Linked DNA regions of Homo sapiens: region 2 is linked to region 1. The links are contacts of gene promoters, found by promoter capture Hi-C in human tissues and cell types (Jung and others, 2019). All regions are on one chromosome and are shown on one strand. The core of a region is centred on a gene start or on the middle of the fragment in contact, and the rest is flanking DNA. Distances in the headings are between cores, read along the strand shown. Region 1 holds the start of BMP8A (bone morphogenetic protein 8a). Region 2 overlaps LINC02811 (long intergenic non-protein coding RNA 2811).

Region 1 (2,608 bases), core at 71-2,570:
GGGCCCTCGTCTAGCCCCTGTGAGGCCCTTTGCGGTGCCTCCCTTGCCAGCCCCTCCAGCCTCCGCCGTTTGCCCCCTGGGCTCTCCAGTTTCCACTGCCCCCCTGCCCGAGCGCAGCTCCACTGCTGTGTGACCTGGCGTAAGTCCCTTAACCGCCGTGTGCCTCAGTTTCCTCATTTATTAAAAGAGGAGGTTCCAGTGGTATGTACCCCCTAACGATGTGCGAGCATCACAGAAATGACACGAGACACACACTCAGAACATGCCTTGGCGTGGCAAGTGCTGACTGTTGCCATTATTAGGCTCCCCAGCCGGGGTCTCAGGGCCTTGGCACAAGCTATTCCCTCTGCCTGGAGCACTTTCCTCCACTGACCTTTCCTGGCGCTCCAGGTCAACTCCAGGAGCCTTCCCAGTGCAGTCTAGGTGCCTTCTCCTTCCGCAGCGCCTGAACCACACAGGAATAAGTAAGGCGAGAGCGCGCCCAGGGAAGAGCAGGTGTGCAGAAAGGGACTGAGTCAGTCGAGACGTTTCCGCGGGGATCCTTCTCTTGGCAGGCCTGCACCGGGGCCGTGGGGACTGAGAAGATGTGCACAGGTGGCTCCCGAGTGCTCGGGAAGGGCCCCAGAGCTTCTGGCCCAGCTGGAGGCAGGAGGCGGAGCCTCCTCCGCAAAGCTGGATCAGTACCGGGGACGCAGGGCGCACAGCTAGGGCTGGCGGGGGCGGCCCGACTGGGGCGCTGCCTGGGCTCACGCGGGAGCCAGGTGGGGGACGCAGGGAGAAGCAGCCGAGCAGGTGCCGAGAAGGAGGCGCCCGCAGAAGCGCATGCAGGGGCCACGGGGAAGGCGCCAGGAGGCGGTGAGGGGCCGCGGTGGCCGGAACCCGGGCCGGCTGCTGCGGGCAGAGGAACAGGCCCCACCCGCGGGGCTTGGCTGGCACCGCCCGGCTCTCCAGACGGGGCTACGGCCGCGTGTCGGGCCCGGTGGCGACCACGGCACACCACGGCGAGGCAGCCGGGTGGCACCACTGGCGGGACCGGGACGGCGCCGCGGCCTTAGGATCTCTGCGCCGAGGCCCGCGGCGGGAGCCACGACGGCCCTGACCACGCTGACGCCCAGGCTGCGGGCTCCTCGCCCGGACCAACCGCCAGCCACGCCGAGGTCGCACCTCGGGGTCGCCCCACCCGCAACACCTGCCGCCGCCCGGGGCTCCTAGCGGGCGCGGCCTCCGCGCCCAGGCCCCGCCCCCGCGCCCCCATTGGTCAGTCCCGGGGGTGGGCGGGCGGCACAGACGGCTGAGCCGGGGCAAGGACTCGCGGGAATCGCGCCGCCCGGGTCGCTGCCGGAGCTCGCCGGTCGCCCCTGCGCTGCGCGGACCGCAGCCACAGCCGGACTGGTGGGAACGGCGGCGACAGACGGATTGGCTGACAGTCCCAGCCCTCAGAACAGCCCCGGCCTCGAAGCGTTGGCGTCTGCGTCCGCGTCAGCGTCCGCTTGTCCCGGAGCCGGGGCAGGTGCGCGCGGGGGGCGCTCCAGGGACCGCGCTGAGGCCGCAGACGCCGCCCGCCGAGCCCCGCCCCCTGCTCGCCGAACTCAGCTCCCCGTTCGCCGTCGGGGCGTCCCCGGGCCCAGGGGCGGCGGCGGAGCTGATGTGCGCCCGCTGAGCGCCCCCGGCCCGCCATGGCCGCGCGCCCCGGACCGCTCTGGCTTCTGGGCCTGACGTTGTGCGCGCTGGGCGGGGGCGGCCCCGGCCTGCGACCCCCGCCCGGCTGTCCCCAGCGACGTCTGGGCGCGCGCGAGCGCCGGGACGTGCAGCGCGAGATCCTGGCGGTGCTCGGGCTACCCGGGCGGCCCCGGCCCCGCGCGCCACCCGCCGCCTCCCGGCTGCCCGCGTCCGCGCCGCTCTTCATGCTGGACCTGTACCACGCCATGGCTGGCGACGACGACGAGGACGGCGCGCCCGCGGAGCAGCGCCTGGGCCGCGCCGACCTGGTCATGAGCTTCGTCAACATGGGTGAGTGCGGCCGCCCGCGCGGGGACCCTCGGAGTAAGCTGGCTGCAGGGGAGGGGCGCGCATCCGCGGGCGGTGCCGGGCCCTGGCCGAACGGGGAATCACAGACGGTGGACGCGAACCACAGGGGAGTGGGACCGCCGTGGTTAGGGAAGGTCTAAGGGTCATGGGGGCCCCCTGGGCTGCGGGGTGGTCAGGAGCAGAGTGTGGGGGACTGTGGACTCCCAGGCGCTGCCTTCACCCTGCCCCAGACACACCCAGGAGTAAGAATTAGGTGATGTCTTTGCCCACCTGGGCTGCCCCGGGAAGACAGCCTGGTCCTGGGGAGACAGGTGAGTAAACAGAGGCCGGGATGCTGTCACTGTGATAAGGACAGTACTGAGGAGAGGGACAAAGTTCAGCGTGGAAACCTGTGGTCACATCATCGGAGTGACCAGAGCTGAGTCGCGTGCCCTGAGTCCACAGCAGGCTCTTCCCTGTGCGGAGCCTGGGTGGGGTGCGGCTGTCAGGGGAGCGGCTGGGGAAGGAGCAGACTCAGCTCGCTGGGGCAGGGACTGTGGCCTTGTCACCCTGGGCCCTGCACTTAGCATGTGGCCTGGTA
Region 2 (2,608 bases), core at 67-2,566, 310 kb after region 1:
AGACTTTTGTGGCAATAAGATACAAAATTATAGGCTGGGCGCGGTGGCTCACGCCTGTAATCCCAGCACTTTGGGGAGGCTGAGGCGGGCAGATCACTTGAGGTCAGGAGTTTGAGACCAGCCTGGCCAACATGGCAAAACCCTGTCTCTACTAAAAATACAAAAATTAGCCGGGCATGGTAGTGCACATCTGTAATCCCAGCTACTTGGGAGGCTGAGGCAGGAAGATCACTTGAACCTGGGAGGCGAAGGTTGCGGTGAGCCAAGATCACGCCATTGCACTCCAGCCTGGGCAACAGAGTGAGATTCCATCTAAAAAAAAAAAAAAAAAAAGATACAGGCCAGGCCAGGCAAGGGTTAAGTCACCCACCCCTACACTTAAAGAATAAACTAAGTTCTAACAGCCACAAGGTTTTTCGTTTTCTCTAGCAGAACAATAAGCACTGGCCTTGAGATAAGCAATATGAAAATAATTGCAGCACATCCACTAACTGACCACTGTTTCCATAAGCCATAACTACAGCTTGGACTGGACAAGAGACTGATATCAATAATTTTCTCCTGATAGTAAGACCACCGACCACGGACTGGTTCTGGCCAGTTTACAGAGGCTGTGCACTTGAGCGCTTTTGTGTCCTGAAAAGACCTTTTGACATCTAGGGCCTAATTGTAATATATTTATTTATTTATTATGATTATTATTTTTGAGATGGAGTCTCGCTGTTGCCCAGGCTGGAGTGCAGTGGCACAATCTCGCCTCACTACAACCTTTGCCTCCTGGGTTCAAGCAATTCTCATGCCTCAGCCTCCTGAGTAGCTGGGATTACAGATGCGTGCCACCACACCCAGCTAGTTTTTGTATTTTTAATAGAGACAGGGTTTTGCCATGTTAGCCAGGCTGGCCTCAAACTCCCGACCTCAAGTGATCTACCTGCCTCAGCCTCCCCAAAGTACTGGGATTACAGGCGTGAGCCACTGCGCCTGGCCTCATAATTGTAATACATTTAAATGTTAAGTGTCCACTCCAGCCGGGCGCGGTGGCTCACGCCTGTAATCCCAGCACTTTGGGAGGCCGAGGCGGGTGGATCACCTGAGGTCAGGAGTTTGAGACCAGCCTGGCCAACATGGTGAAACTCCATCTCTACTAATAATACAAAAATTAGCTGGGCGTGGTAGTGCACATCTGTAATCCCAGCTACTTGAGAGGCTGAGGCAGGAGAATCACTTGAACCCGGGAGGCCGAGGTTGCAGTGAGCCGAGATCGCGCCATTGCACGCCAACCTGGGCAAGGGCCTGTCTCAAAAAAAAAAAAAAAAAAGTGTCCACTCCAGGGTGAACATGAGTCTCCAAAATTTTAATATAAACAAAACGTGAAATCTTGTTCTTCCACACATTCCCCACACAAGTGCTGCCAAGATCATCTGAAAAGTTTTAATCTACAAAGAAAGGTCCAGGACCATTGTCCATGGCTCTGCCCCTCCTACCCCCGGCTTTTCAGTTCCTTATCTCCCCATCACAATGCCGTCCTTCCCCACTTCACCGTGCCCCGATGTCCCTGACAACCCTCTGCAACTAGTCAAAGCCCCGGACTACCGTTGGGCCCACAAATTCATGTCTTTCCTGCTTGCTTGCTCCACCAATCAAGCCACTTCTCTTTCTAGGCCTCCTCAAGACCTCCTTCAATTTCTGCCTATCCATCAACTCATTTCTGCCTCCATTTTCCTCTTTAACCAGCTTAAATGTCATGTTCCATCATTTCAATCACTTCCTTGCAAACATCCTAAAATCCTTGGCTCTCCCTTTGTCCTCAGCACCAACCTATCAAAACTCCAAACATGTTCAGGCATGGTGGCTCACGCCTGTAATCCCAGCACCGAGGCCAACGCGGGAGGATCACTTGAACTCAGGAGTTCGAGGCCGCCTGAGCAACACAAAGAGACCTTGACTGTACTGGGGAAAAAAAAAATAGCCAGGTATAGTGGTGTGAACCTGTAGTCCCAGCTACTCAGGAGGCTGAGGTGGGAGGATTTCTGGAGCCCTGGAGATCGAGGCTGCAGTGAGCTATGATTGCACCACTGCATTCCAGCCTGGACAACAGAGCGAGACTGTTTCTATTTTTTTTTTTTTTTTTTTGAGACGGGGTCTTGCTCTGTCACCCAGACTGGAATGCAGTGGTGCGATTTCGGTTCACTGCAAGCTCCGCCTCCCAGGTTCACGCCATTCTCCTGCCTCAGCCTCCGGAGTAGCTGGGACTACAGGCACCCGCCACCTCGCCCGGCTAATTTTTTGTATTTTTATTACAGACGGGGTTTCACTGCATTAGCCAGGATGCTCTCGATCTCCTGACCTCATGATCCGCCCGCCTCGGCCTCCCAAAGTGCTGGGATTACAGGCATGAGCAACCGTGCCCAGCCTGACTCTGTTTCAAGAAACAAAACAAAACAAACCCTCCAAACTCTAGGTGAACCTAACTATGCCTCTCCTTTATGCTTACAGCCAGGCCAGGAAGCATTTTTTAAGAACTACTGGGGGTGTAAGTAACACTATAAATTCAGTCACCAACCTCAATGCCGTTAGACAATTCCAGTGCATTTTGATGTTTAGTTGC

Evidence for each region. Contacts are between HindIII fragments. The study calls those that stand out against the background at their distance.
Region 2: a contact is called between a fragment that was not itself captured here and the fragment with the promoter of BMP8A in region 1, in 1 of the 25 tissues and cell types used here (neural progenitor cells).

Annotation. Positions count from the first base shown.
Region 1 is chr1:39,490,316-39,492,923 of GRCh38, forward strand. It overlaps BMP8A (bone morphogenetic protein 8a), which reads left to right and starts at 1,321. Exons shown (of 7, transcript NM_181809.4): 1 at 1,321-2,010. The coding sequence starts at 1,677. LOC124904101 (a long non-coding RNA gene) reads right to left here and starts at 1,233. Exons shown (of 2, transcript XR_007065978.1): 1 at 374-1,233. RefSeq lists silencers at 820-1,449, 1,550-1,649. The HindIII fragment of the contact is 32,682 bases long and covers 1-2,608 here.
Region 2 is chr1:39,801,173-39,803,780 of GRCh38, forward strand. LINC02811 (long intergenic non-protein coding RNA 2811) reads right to left here. Exons shown (of 4, transcript NR_186710.1): 4 at 242-312. All of the region lies in intron 1 of LOC130932201 (a long non-coding RNA gene), which reads left to right. Among named protein-coding and RNA genes, the nearest start is that of BMP8B, 14 kb to the left of the region's middle. The HindIII fragment of the contact is 4,619 bases long and covers 1-2,608 here.